Regions from separate parts of the Homo sapiens genome. Here all the other regions are linked to region 1. Evidence: promoter capture Hi-C in 16 types of primary human blood cells and fetal thymus (Javierre and others, 2016). All regions are on one chromosome and are shown on one strand. The core of a region is centred on a gene start or on the middle of the fragment in contact, and the rest is flanking DNA. Distances in the headings are between cores, read along the strand shown. Region 1 holds the start of AMHR2 (anti-Mullerian hormone receptor type 2). Region 2 overlaps EIF4B (eukaryotic translation initiation factor 4B). Region 3 overlaps SPRYD3 (SPRY domain containing 3). Region 4 has its middle 4.1 kb from the start of IGFBP6. Region 5 has its middle 25 kb from the start of SOAT2.

The links. Contacts are between HindIII fragments. The CHiCAGO score rates a contact against its expected background, and 5 or more counts as called.
Region 2: a contact is called between a fragment that was not itself captured here and the fragment with the promoter of AMHR2 in region 1, in 1 of 17 cell types (neutrophils). The highest score is 6.1, in neutrophils.
Region 3: a fragment that was not itself captured here is called in contact with the fragment with the promoter of AMHR2 in region 1 in 4 of 17 cell types (activated CD4 T cells, fetal thymus, total B cells and 1 more); the score reaches 6.3 in activated CD4 T cells.
Region 4: a contact is called between a fragment that was not itself captured here and the fragment with the promoter of AMHR2 in region 1, in 2 of 17 cell types (monocytes and total B cells). The highest score is 6.2, in monocytes.
Region 5: a contact is called between a fragment that was not itself captured here and the fragment with the promoter of AMHR2 in region 1, in 1 of 17 cell types (activated CD4 T cells). The highest score is 5.7, in activated CD4 T cells.

The regions. Positions count from the first base shown.
Region 1 is chr12:53,422,499-53,425,104 of GRCh38, forward strand. AMHR2 (anti-Mullerian hormone receptor type 2) reads left to right here and starts at 1,357. Exons shown (of 11, transcript NM_020547.3): 1 at 1,357-1,485; 2 at 1,790-1,972; 3 at 2,211-2,402. The coding sequence starts at 1,437. The HindIII fragment of the contact is 5,088 bases long and covers 1-2,606 here.
Region 2 is chr12:53,022,243-53,024,848 of GRCh38, forward strand. It overlaps EIF4B (eukaryotic translation initiation factor 4B), which reads left to right. Exons shown (of 15, transcript NM_001417.7): 6 at 251-385. Among named protein-coding and RNA genes, the nearest start is that of EIF4B, 17 kb to the left of the region's middle. The HindIII fragment of the contact is 3,982 bases long and covers 1-2,606 here.
Region 3 is chr12:53,067,336-53,069,941 of GRCh38, forward strand. It overlaps SPRYD3 (SPRY domain containing 3), which reads right to left. Exons shown (of 11, transcript NM_032840.3): 7 at 820-969; 8 at 313-370. Among named protein-coding and RNA genes, the nearest start is that of SPRYD3, 11 kb to the right of the region's middle. The HindIII fragment of the contact is 1,457 bases long and covers 553-2,009 here.
Region 4 is chr12:53,092,262-53,094,867 of GRCh38, forward strand. No RefSeq gene overlaps it. Among named protein-coding and RNA genes, the nearest start is that of IGFBP6, 4.1 kb to the right of the region's middle. The HindIII fragment of the contact is 1,191 bases long and covers 729-1,919 here.
Region 5 is chr12:53,126,924-53,129,529 of GRCh38, forward strand. No RefSeq gene overlaps it. Among named protein-coding and RNA genes, the nearest start is that of SOAT2, 25 kb to the left of the region's middle. The HindIII fragment of the contact is 6,708 bases long and covers 1-2,606 here.

The DNA of each region.
Region 1 (2,606 bases), core at 107-2,606:
CAGTTTTCTTACCTATAAAATGGAAATAATAAAAATAATAGGCCAGGCACAGTGGCTCACACTTGTAATCCCAGCACTTTGGGAGGCCAAGGCGGGCAGATCACGAGGTCACGAGATCGAGACTATCCTGGCCAACATGGTGAAACCCTGTCTCTACTAAAAATACAAAAATTAGCTGGACATGGTGGTGCGTGCCTGTAATCCCAGCTACTCGGGAGGCTGAGGCAGGAGAATCGCTTGAACCAGGGAGTCAGAGGTTGCAGTGAGCCAAGATGGCACCACTGCACTCTAGCCTGGTGACAGAGCGACACTCGGTCTCAAAAAATAAATAAATAAAATAATAATAATAAATATTTCAGGGGAGAATTAGATGAGATGATTGTAAAATGCATAGCCCTAGCTGTGCCCCAGCACATAGTAGGTGCTTGATAAGAAATTTGTTACCTCCTTAATAATGGGTATTTGTTCAGCCTGTGAACCAATGTGTTTTTTTTTTTTAAGTAAAATCCACGGCTAGGCATGGTGGCTCACGCCTATAATCCCAGCACTTTGGGAGGCCGAGGCGGGCAAATCACCTGAGGTAAGGAGTTCGAGACTAGCCTGGCTGACATGGTGAAACCCCGTCTCTACTAAAAATACAAAAATTAGCCAGGTGTGGTGGCAGGCGCCTGTAATCCCAGCTACTCAGGAGGCTGAGGCAGGAGAATAGCTTGAACCCAGGAGGCGGAGGTTGCAGTGAGCTGCGATCGTGCCACTGCACTCCAGCCTGGGGGAGAAGAGCGAGACTCCGTCTCAAAAAAAAAAAAAAAAAAATCCACATAGCAAAATTTACCATTGTTACTGTTTTCAATGTGTTTTTTAAAAATTCAGGTAAGTTTTGTATACTTTCTGATTCTTAAGTTGGAAAACAAGGTAACCTCTAATATGGGCTGTGAGGCCTTCCTCTGCCCAAGCAGTTGCAGATATGAACCCTGAATATAAAGAGATCTTAGGCTAGAAAGGATCTTGGGCAGAGCTGAATGGCTCTAAGCATTTGACCTCACATTGGTTTCCTCCTGAGAAGAGTCAACAGAGTCCAGCATCTTCTTCCAAGGTCAGGGAAGGGCAAAGATTTGAAATTAGGCATCACTGGGTTCTCAGCTGGGCCTCCAAGTTCCCCTCCTCTCACTATGCAGAGCAAAGAGGAGGTTGCAGAAGAGAAGAGGATATGAGATTGGTTCTCTGCTCCTCCCTTTCTTTCCCTGCTTTCCCCACACCCACCCTCTCCCCCACAGCAGCCTTCTCCCCCACAGAGGCTGGGATAGGATGAGGGGGGCGGAGTTGGGGACTGAGGGATCAGAAGCCCCAGGATGCCCTGTATCTGAAGAAAGATTTGGCCAGGGGCAGCTGTGCTGGCTTATGCTCTTCTCCTTCTGCTGCTGCCATCCTCCAGCAAGATGCTAGGGTCTTTGGGGCTTTGGGCATTACTTCCCACAGCTGTGGAAGGTAAGTGTCTACAGGGAGGGGAAGGGTCTCTCCATCCATCCAGCAAGGGAAAGGGGCGCTTGAAGCAAGAGCCACCCCTTTGGAAGAGTGGTGAGTGGGCTGGGTGAGTAAGGGTGAAGGATAGAGCCATGTGTCCCCATGGCAGGGCTCAGGTTCCAGGCCTCTGCTGACCCTGCTTCCTCCTGTGGCTTTACCATACTGACGCTGGGATGTGGAACATGTTTTGTCTATTCTTTTGGCCAGTTTTTTGCCTCTGCATTCACTCCCACCTTGAATCTTTTCCTTTCCCCACCCTGGGCCTCAGCACCCCCAAACAGGCGAACCTGTGTGTTCTTTGAGGCCCCTGGAGTGCGGGGAAGCACAAAGACACTGGGAGAGCTGCTAGATACAGGCACAGAGCTCCCCAGAGCTATCCGCTGCCTCTACAGCCGCTGCTGCTTTGGGATCTGGAACCTGACCCAAGACCGGGCACAGGTGGAAATGCAAGGTGAATGGCAAAGTATATGGCAGGTGATGGCTAGGGTGGGAGACAGACACATCCTGGGGTGTGGGTGGCAACCAAGGGGGAAGGGGAGAAATAGAACATCTGGTGGGAAAGAAAAGCCCATGAGAGCTGGAAGGGACGCCTCTGATAGAGAAGGGATTTACCCTCTGTTTCCACACCCCATTGTGCTTTCTTCCTTGCCCCCCCTTTCTCTCCTCTTCCCCTAATCCCATCCCATCAGGATGCCGAGACAGTGATGAGCCAGGCTGTGAGTCCCTCCACTGTGACCCAAGTCCCCGAGCCCACCCCAGCCCTGGCTCCACTCTCTTCACCTGCTCCTGTGGCACTGACTTCTGCAATGCCAATTACAGCCATCTGCCTCCTCCAGGGAGCCCTGGGACTCCTGGCTCCCAGGGTCCCCAGGCTGCCCCAGGTAGCCACCCAAGGGTACTGAAGCCTGATGGGGGCTGGGGCCCAGGTTAGGATGAGAGGTGGAACCAGGGCCAGTTCTCACCCTACTCCCGCCCCACGCTTTCCTCCTCCTGGCCTTGGGAAGTTGGTTGCCCTGGTGACTGGGAGATAAGGGGTCTTGTGACCAGGGTGGGGGTGGGTTGAGACGCAAGCTCTCAGGAGGGGA
Region 2 (2,606 bases), core at 71-2,570, 400 kb before region 1:
ATATGTTTCAGGGACTCCTGGCCCATACAGAATTTGAGATAGCTAAGCATTAAACCAATAGGAAAAAACGGGAGGAAAAGAGCCACCTGGGGTTGAATTGGAGCATGTACTTATGGGGCCTGAGGTAACTGGGATGACAGTGTGACGTGAAAGTGAAAAATAGGGTAAAATGGGGGTTTTCTATGTGTGAGAAATATTGGGCAAAGTTTTTATGAGATAACTTACGGTTTTTGTTTTAATGTATCTGTAGACAGGGATGATCGTTCTTTTGGCCGTGATAGAAATCGGGATTCTGACAAAACAGATACAGACTGGAGGGCTCGTCCTGCTACAGACAGCTTTGATGACTACCCACCTAGAAGAGGTGATGATAGCTTTGGAGACAGTAAGTTTGTTTTTATGAAGTTAGCTTCCTCTGTGCTTTGGGAGGCTATTTAGTAATAGGACAAATGTGTTACAGATGATCAGATCACATTAACAGATAGAAGGAGGAAAGCAGATTAAGAAAAATTTTGGATAGTATCTGAAAGAACTGATAGATGCAGGAAACGAATTTGATAAATTAATAATTTTTTTTGAAAACTTAACCAAACAAAGGGACAGACATTTCTCTTTTTTTGGAGACAATTGTTTATAAAGAAACCCAAACTGGGCATGGTGGCTATAATCCCAACGCTTTGGGAGGTCAAGGCAGGTGGATTGCTTAAGGCCAGGAGTTTGAGAGCAGCCTGGGCGACAAAACAAGACCCTGTCTACCAAAAAGAAAAAGAAAAAGCTGACGTGGTGGTACGCACCTGCAGTCCTAGCTGTTCAGCAAGCTGAGGCAAGAGGACTCCTTGAGCCCAGGAGGTCTAGACTGGGTGACAGAGCGAGACCCTGTCTCAAAAAAAAAAATCCAACAGATTCTACAAAGTGAGCTATTTGAAATAAGAGTTCAGCATGATTGCTGAGTGAAGAGCAGCATACAAAGATCAGTTGCATTACTTTTTGATATATATATATATTTTTGAGACGGAGTCTCGCTGTGTCGCCCAGGCTGGAGTGCAGTGGCGTGACCTTGGCTCACTGCAACCTCCACCTCCTGGATTCAAGTGATTCTCCTGCCTCAGCCTCCCAAGTAGCTGGGACTACAGGCGCGCGCCACCACACCCAGCTAATTTTTGTATTTTTAGTAGAGATGGGGTTTCACCATGTTGGCCAGGATAGTCTTGATCTCTTGACCTCATGATCCGCCCGCCTTGGCCTCCCAAAGTGCTGGGATTACAGGCGTGAGCCACTGCGCCTGGCCCATCAGTTGCATTACTATATGCTTGTAGCAAACAATTAAAATGTAAAATTTTTTTTTTTTTTTTTTTTTTGAGACAGAGTTTCGCTCTTGTTGCCCAGGCCGGAGTGCAATGGCATGATCTCAGGTCACCTCAACCTCCGCCTCCTAGGTTCAAGCGATTCTCCTGCCTCAGCCTCCCGAGTAGCTGGGATTACAGGCATGTGCCACCATGCCTGGCTAATTTTGTATTCTTAGTAGAGATGGGGTTTCTCCATGTTGGTCAGGCTGGTCTCGAACTCCTGACCTCAGGTGATCCTCCTGCTTCAGCCTCCCAAAGTGCTGGGATTACAGGCATGAGCCACTGCACCTGGCCTAAAATGTAACTTTCTAAAATAAAAATATTGATTCACTTTAAAAATACTCAAGATATAGCAGTGAACAAAGATACAGCAGTGTAATTTTTTTCTAATAAAAATTGATTCACTTAAATGCTCAAGATACAGCAGTGAACAAAAACAAGAAAATCCTGTCTTTATTGGGCATACATTATTATAGTGGAGGGAAGAGACAGTGTGTGAATAATTAAACAGTTGGGGTGCGGAAAGATAGGTGAGTGGGAAATATCATGGGGTAGGAGTAGAGATTAATTACATACATCACTTTAACAAAGACCTTTATGGGGAAAATTATGCAACTTTATTAAAATACACAAAAGTAGACCACACTATTTTTAAAATGGAAAGAAGCTACTACCTAGTAAAAATAAATAAATAGTGGTTTGTCTGTAATCAAATACTTAATAGCATAACAACAGGGATAAAATTCAAAACCTGTTACATTAAGGGGAAAAAAATTGTGTATAAATTTGAAAACAATACCATGTAGTATTAATGCATAAGTTGTAAAATTATAAAGCTACGCATGGTAATTTAACCACCCTTTTAATTGTTGGTGGGGATAGGGAAAATTCTGTTTTTAGTCTGTAACATATTTCTTTTAAACAAAAAACAAACATGGCAAAATATGACATTCACTAAACCTAAGTAATAGGTTCATAAGTTTGTTATAATGGTGTCTTTACTTTTCTGTATGTTTGAAATAGTTTAAGTAAAAACAGACCAACTTAAATTTACAAGCTCTTTGTTTTGTTTTGTTTTGTTTTGTTTTGACACAGTCTCTCTGTGTTGCCCAGACTGGAGTGCAGTGGCAATCTTGGCTCACTGCAACCTCTGCCTGCCAGGTTCAGGGTGTTCCTCATGCCTCAGCCTCCTGAGTAGCTGGGATTACAGATGCGCACCACCACACCTGGCTAATTTTTGTATTTTTTAGTAGAGATGGG
Region 3 (2,606 bases), core at 31-2,530, 360 kb before region 1:
AACCAAGCAGCAAAAGAAAAAAGAAAATGAGGAAATGAGGGTCTGCAGGAAGGGCACGGGGGGACCAGCTCAGAGGCCTGGAATGTCCCATCTGGGCCCAGATCTCCCTCTCCTGTCCTGCTCCCCTGGTTTCCAGAGCTGGGAGGAAAACACAGATGAGGAGGAAGCACTAGCGATTTGGGAAGGGGAGGTCAGCCAGCAGCAGGGCAAACAGCAAGGCCATTTGTGAGGGGCCAGGAGAGGGGAAAGTGGATGTCCCTATGCCTCCACATCTCCCACCATCCCACCTTTCCCAGGCAGCCCGCTATTCACCTGCATGATAAGCCACAGACCCTCTGCTCCAGCCAGGGTGCCTGTTCTTGGGATAGTCCTGCACCAAGAAGAGAAAAGAAAATCTATGGTCCCATGCATAAACAAGACAGGAGAGAGTGGCGAGTAGCATCTGAACCTCTGGGACAGACCACAGCCCAGAGAGTGCCAACCCTGCACACTCATACCCTGCAGGCACTGGGGCTTCAGGGGAACCAGGGAGGGTGAGGAAAGTGTTAGTTAAGCTTTTAAGGCCAGAGCCATGGCATGTCCCACCCCCTCCCCCCAGGCCTTAGTGTGTGGTGCAGTCATGACCTGTCTCAGGTCCTTGGTCACATGGGGTGTGTACTCTTACACAGCAGACACATACAACTGTGTTCCATCTCAGCTTAGCACCCTCCCTCCAAAGCCTGGGCTCCCCTGGTTTCTCCTAAGAGCTTCCTGGTGCTGCCCCAACAGCCCCAGACCTGAGCAGCTCCATGAGCAAAAAAGCTCAGCCTTTGTGCCCACCTTCCGTGCCAGCCCCAGGGCGATGTAGCATTTCTCTCCAGGGTCCACGATCTCCACCTCGAAGTAGTGGCTGCGGGTGCTGAGTGGGTGCCGGGCCTGGGCCAGCCCCACATCCACGATGCTTTTGCCCTTCCCTAAGTACTCCAGCAGCTGTGGGGGAAGAGCCAGATGGGGGTCAGGGGACAGGCTGACACCCACCCTGGAAACCTGGGCCCAAGGCAGTCTGGGTCCCACTTTCCCAGGTCTGACAAAAACTCCTGGCTGAAAGGGAAAGAATCCTAGAGATACAATGTGGCCCCAAAGTTCTAGGCCAGCATGGAAGAGCAGGATGGGGTGGGAGGCAAAGGGGAGAGCACCCCTTGCTGAATGCCCACGCTGTCTTCCCCCACACACTTTCTGGGAGGCCGGGGAAAGCAGCACAGCTAGGGGAGCGGCACACCAGGGGGCTCTAGATGCATCCTCGCCCGCTGAAAAACCCTGCAGCCTTTCCTGCTGGGAAAGGTCCGCCCAGGGTCCCAAACACAGGGGAAAGGAGAAGCAAGACTAGCTGAGAGGAAACTTGATGACTTTCTCAGGGGGCCTAATGGGGACAGGGAGGATGCAGAAGTTAGGTGCCAACCCCAGATATTCAGGGGAAGCGGGTGAGTTCAGAAGCCAATTCTGCCTGGGATGGGCCTGACATAATTTCTCAAGGTCCTTGTTTTACTTGGCTGTGAACACAGCTGTTCTTAGCTGGGTCAGGGAGGTGCTGAGGGGAGCCCAGGGACCCAGAACGCCCAGCTCTACTCCCTCATTTCATGTGAGGGAGAGGAGAGGTCAAAATGAAGACAGAGGCAGGCTTAGCTGTTCCCAGCCCCTCATTGCTCATTCAAGTTGGAGTAGGGGCGTGGAGGTAGGATAGGGGAGATGACTGATGGGTTCTTGGGGCTCTTCAGTCCCACAATGGTCCTGCCTGGGCACGACGGGGCGGCAACCCCCAATCTGGGAGGATTTATTTGTCAGTTGTCATGGTAATAGTGGGGTGATGACTCAACCCCATCCCCTCTTTCCCCCACCTTCGGCCTCACCTGGGATTCCTTAATCTCCTTTTAATTAGCCCAACTGCCCCTCACGACTTTCTTCTACCCTCCCACCCCTGCAGCCCTGAAGGAAACATGTTGCCTAGGGACCTCCTCCACGTCTCCCTGGCAAGCTTTGGGACGCCGGCCTCTCACCTCTCACAGATTCCTGCCTGAACAGGAAAGGAATTATGCCCACCTGCACCAGCACAGAAGCCTGTGCGTGTCTCCAGCAGAGGCTGCTCCCGCATCCCCACTCCCAGCCTCAGACGGCCGCTGCTTAGCTCAGGTGCTTAGAGCGGGGTGCTACTAACCCCTTCTGAGAGTAGGACTAGAGGGGCTTGGTGCCTTTCTCAGCCCTGGATCTCAGCCCCGCCACCTCAAGTCCATCCTTCCCTCCTCTCCAAAGATAACTGGGGATGGATGAGGGGGAAAGCAGCATGCACGGGAGACCACCTAAGCCCATCCCCAAGGCCACACTGTTTGACTTCTGTTCATGGTGTATTCTCTGCTCAGCCTGGGTTCCTCCTCTGCCTCTCTCCCCGGGAAGCCAGGAGGGGTGTGGCTTGATCCACATTAACTAGTTTAGACTCCACCCAGGCAGAGCAGCCCCCAGCCCACCCTCTCCACCCAGCATTGCAGAACTGGGTGGGGGACCCCACAGCTGCCTTTGACCCATTCTATCCAACTGGCCTCGGTGTAGGAAACACAGTGTTCTCCATTTCCAGA
Region 4 (2,606 bases), core at 74-2,573, 330 kb before region 1:
AGGCAGGGTGTCAACTGGCCAAGTAGGTGAGGAAGAGGTGCCAGAATTTGGTTAATGATGGGCTAGGTGTGGTGTCTCATGCCTGTAATCCCAGTACTTTGGGAGGCTGAGGTGGGAGGATCACTTGAGTCTAGGAGCTCAAGCTCCTATATTGTCCAGCCTGGACAATATAATAATAAGATCCTGTCTATATAAAATACTTTTTTTTCTTTTTTGAGGGGGGTTTCGCTCTCGTTGCACAGGCTGGAGTACAATGGTGTGATCTCAGCTCACTGCAACCTCCGCCTCCTGGGTTTAAGCAATTCTCCTTCCTCAGCCTCCCAAGTAGCTGGGATTACAGGCATGCGCCATCATGCCAGGCTAATTTTTTTGTATTTTTAGTAGAGACGAGGTTTCACCATGTTGGTTTCACCAGGCTGGTTTCGAATTCCTGACCTCAGGTGATCTGCCCACCTCGGCCTCCCAAAGTGCTGGGATTACAGGCGTGAGTAAGCACACCTGGCCTAAAAAATTAAAAAATTAGCCAGATGTGGTGGTGCGTGGCTGTGGTCCCAACTACTCTGGAGGCTGAAATGGAAGGATTACTTGAGCCCATGAGGTTGAGGCTGCAGTGAGCTGTGACTGAGCCACTGCACTCCAGCCTGGGTGACAGAGTGAGACCCTGTTTCAAAAAAAAAAGAATGTGGCTAGTGATGAGGGGAGTGAAGGGAGGGTCCTTGTAAGCTGAAAGCTTGGAGTTCAGGGGAAGAAATGATCTCTGAGCACCAATTATGCCTCATCCTCATTTCCCCTTATCCCATTTCAATCCCCAAGATGAGAAACTACCAGGGGGTTCTGGGGAAGGTGATTCAGCCAGCTAACTGAAGCAGAGTGTGTTTCAGGGTCATTGTCTACGGGACCCTGAATGTCAGGTGGAGCACAGGTTCTATGGTAGGGGAGGACATCGAGGAATAACACACACCGGGACCTGTGGGGTCGGGGGGCAAGGGGAGGGAGAGCATCAGATCAAATAGCTAAGGCATGTGGGGTTTAATACATAAATATATGGACTGGGCATGGTGGCTTATGCCTGTAATCCCAGCATTTTGAGAGGCTGAGGCGGGCAGATCATGAGGTCAGGAGTTGGAGACCAGCATGATCAACATGGTGAAACCTCGTCTCTACTAAAAATACAAAAATTAGCCGGGCACGGTGGCACGTGGCTGTAATCCCAGCTACTCAGGAGGCTGAGGCAGGAGAATCACCTGAACCCAGGAGGCAGAGGTTGCAGTGAGCCGAGTTCGCGTCACTGCACTCCAACCTGGGCGACAGAGCCAGACTCCGTCTCAAAAAAAACGAAAAACAAAAAACATAAATACATAAGTGATGGATTGATAGGTGCAGCAAACCACTGTGGCACATGTTTACCTATGTAACAAACCTGCACATTCTGCACATACATCCCAGAACTTAAAGTAAAATTTAAAAACCAAGAAATAAAAAGTAAAGTGCCCCCGAAATCCTTGAGGAGAAGAGAATTATGGGATCAGGAGCACATTTCAGCAGGACCAGTTTGGATGGTATGTGTGGGAGAGATGGCAGAAAACAGAGGCTGCAGGTTAGCTGAGGTTTACACAGTAGTTCCCATCAGGCCCACGTCAGCCTTAGGCCATGTCATGATGTGATGTGGTCATTGAACTTCCTCTCTGGGACTTTCTGTCTGTGGACTGTGCCACTGTTTCTCGTCTCAAATTTAAAGCTGAATATGGTCCAGGCAGGCCCCTTCCTTTATCCCTTGTTCTCAAAAGGAAGTCAGCACTTGGGGCACCATGAATTTAGAGGGACGGGTTGAGTGTGAGAGACACAGCATGAAGGATCAGAAAACCAGGGTATAATGTAGATGCGGAGGAGGAAGTTCCAGTAGAGTTTGTTTATGGAAAAGCTTAAGTGATAGCCCAAGCTATTTAGCCTTTCCTCAGCCTGGAAGAAACTTCTCAGCAAACCCTTCTCACACAAAGGCCAGACAGAATCCGACAGTTTTGTACCTTGGCCCACACTCTTGGTCTGAGTGCTGAACATGTGCTTCAGATTTCTGCCCTGGGTACTAAGGCAGAGGGCATCCCAATGGCAGGAAGGCAGAGTTCAAGCGTCTCAGTCTGCAAAGAGACCGGTTAGACCCTCAGTGCTGATGGCCATACAACTGGGGATCATGCTAGAGGGAGGGGGAAACAGGGAAGTGTAATCCTGGGGTGGTGGGTGGAACTGGACTGTGCAATCGGGCTTAGAATCTAGAAAGTAACAGCTGGGCAGGTGGGAGCGGCAGGCAGGGAGAATCTGAGGCAGTGGTAGCAGCGTGGGAAGCGGGGGCTGGAAATTGAGGAGGGTTGAGGAGGGAGTGGTGGATGTTAGAAGCTGGCAAAGTGTTGGGCTTTTTCTGAACGATAACCTACAAAGGAGTAGCACAGCCTTTTTTTTTTTTTTTTTTTTTTTTTTTTTTTTTTCTTTGAGACAGGGTCTCACTCTGGTTGTTCCAGGCTGGAGTGCAGTGGTGTGATCTTGGCTCATCCCTTCCACCTTAGCCTCCTAGGTAGCTGGGACTAAAGGCATGCACCACCACATCTGGCTGA
Region 5 (2,606 bases), core at 37-2,536, 300 kb before region 1:
CGTCTCTATTAAAAATACAAAAATTAGCCGGGAGTGGTGGTGCACGCCTGTAATCTCGGCTACTCAGGCAGCTGAGGCAGGAGAATCACTTGAACCCAGGGGGCAAAGGTCGCAGTGAGCCAAGATTGTGCCACCGCACTCCAACCTGGGCAACAGAGCGAGACTCCATCTCAAAAAAAAAAAAAAAAAAAGAAAGAAAGAAAGATTCCTGTGTAGTCATTTATTTCTCTCAGTTTTCCCACTTTGAGCCTCCAGTGTTGCAGATGAAAAGTCCCATACCAATGTGATTTGTTTCCTTTTGTAGATAACTTGCTCTTTCTGTCTAAAAACTTGAAAATGTTTTTCTTTAACCTTGAAGTTTGGGAGTTTCATGCCTGTGTGTATGTCTTTTCTTGTTGTATCTTCCTGTTTCCTTTCAGTCTTCAAGCTCAGATATTTCTTCACGTCAGCAAAATTTTCTTCTATTCTTTATTGCTTCTCCTCCATCTATTCCTTTTCCCCCTTTTGGAACTAATATAGTTGAATTTCAGGACTACTGGATCTACTCTCCAAGAATCACATTTTCCTCATTATTTCCATCTCTTCATAGTATTTGCTCCATGCTTTGAAATATTATTTCCACTTGTTCTTCCAAGCCACTAATTTGAGTCTCAGCAGTGCCTATTCTCTCTTTCAATACATATACTAATTTTTTTGTTGTTGAAAGTGTTGTTTTTTTAGTTCCCAAAAGTTGTTTCTTTCTTTTTCCTTTTTTTTCTTTCTTTTCTTCTTCCTCTTTTTTTTTTTTTTTTTTTTTCATACTACTTGAATCTCTAAGTGCTCCTAATTGTTTAAGTTATCATATATCTCTTTCAGTGGCTACTGTGCTTTCTGGTGGGCAGGGAAACAAGCTATCATAACTGCATCCCTGCAGGGCCAAGGCTCTCTGAGTCACATTCTTCCAGTGTTCCCATGGTCCTGATCTCTCTGCTCTGGGTGCTTCAAAGCTGGTCTCTATGCAGTGAGAGTGAGGAAGCTCCTCACCAGGTCTCCACACCAGGACTTCCCCCCTCTAACCCTAAGTTAAGGCTTTAATTGGCACCCTGCAGCCTGGCTCCAGCAGCAACATGGCTAAATGTTTGGAAATGAGGGTGGAATAGAGTGGAAATTGCCTTAGAACTGTAGTTCTCAAACTCCATCGTGCATTAGAACTACCTTCGGGGTTTGTTAATACAGAGTTTCTGATTCATTAAGTCTGGGGTCAAGCCTGAGAATGTGCATTTCTAACAAGTTTCCAGGGCAAGCCCTTGCTGCTGATCTAGGGACCACTTCTTTAGCATACACCGAACCAAGCCCTCTTTCTTCTCCTCCTTTTTTTCCTTTTTCTTCTTCAAAATTATTCTTTCTTTTCTTTCTTACTTTTTTTTTCTTTTTTTTTTTGAGACAAAATCTTGCTCTGTCATCCAGGCTGGAGTATAGGAGTGCGATCTCAGCTCACTGCAACCTCCCGCTCAAGAGATTCTCATGCCTCTGCCTCCCGAGTAGCTGGCGTTACAGGTGTGCCCCACTGCACCTGGCTAATTTTTTCTATTTTTAATAGAAATGGGATTTCACTGTGTTGGCCAGGCTGGTCTTGAACTCCTGGACTCAAGTGATCTGCCTGCCTCAGCCTCTCAAAATTCTGGGATTACATGCATGAGTCACCGCGCCCAGCCCAAAATTATACATTCTTTTTATGGTAAGGAAATTAACCCAATGTCAGGGAATTATCTCCTAGTTTTATGTTTAGTCTTCCTACTAGTTCACGGTACTGGGACTTGTACACGAATGAGCTCCATCCAGGCGCCTCCTCCACCGAAACGCTCATGGGTGCATCCCTGACGAGCCCAGGTGTGTCTAAGGAGGAGGCACCAGCGGGGACCCGAAGGCACTCCAGGCAGGACACCACCACTGGGCTCACCTGAAGATGAGTAAAGGTGGGTCAGACCAGAAGTTGCCATCTGTGCATGGCCTCAGGCCCCCCTCCTCTTTGGACACCCTTTTATTATTAGCTTTGTGCCCACACAGCCCTCCCTTCAGGATCCTCAGGGGTCAGAGGGCTGTGGTTCGGGAAGTACCTAGGGTGGCAGTAGGTGGTGAGGCTGCTGCCCGGCAGGACTTTCCTCCCCTGCTGAGAGCCACCTTTCTTCCTGTCTACAGTCTGCGAGTGTTGTCCCCTGTGTGTCCCCAGACTGCACCCAACTGCTTGTTACAGACACCTTCCCTTCACCCCTTTGATTTTGCCTAGTGTTTCCCCTTCTTTAAATCACCTTGCCTGTCCTGGGACCCTTATAGCACTCGCTCTGCTGTCCTATGGTCCCCTCCCGAATCTGTGCTGTCCAGTGTCTGTGACCTCTGTAACACCCCACACCTCACTATCCATGCTCCTCTCATGCTCTGCCATGCGGAGCTCCTCTTCCATAACACACACTCCACCGTTCTACAACACAGGCTTCAAATGGGCATTTCAGCAAAGTCCAATGACCTTAATCTTAATCTGCATGCAGGATTTCCTTTTTTTTCTTTCTTTCTTCCTTTTTTTTTTTTGACAGAGTCTTGCTCTGTCTCCCAGGCTGGAGTGCAGTGGT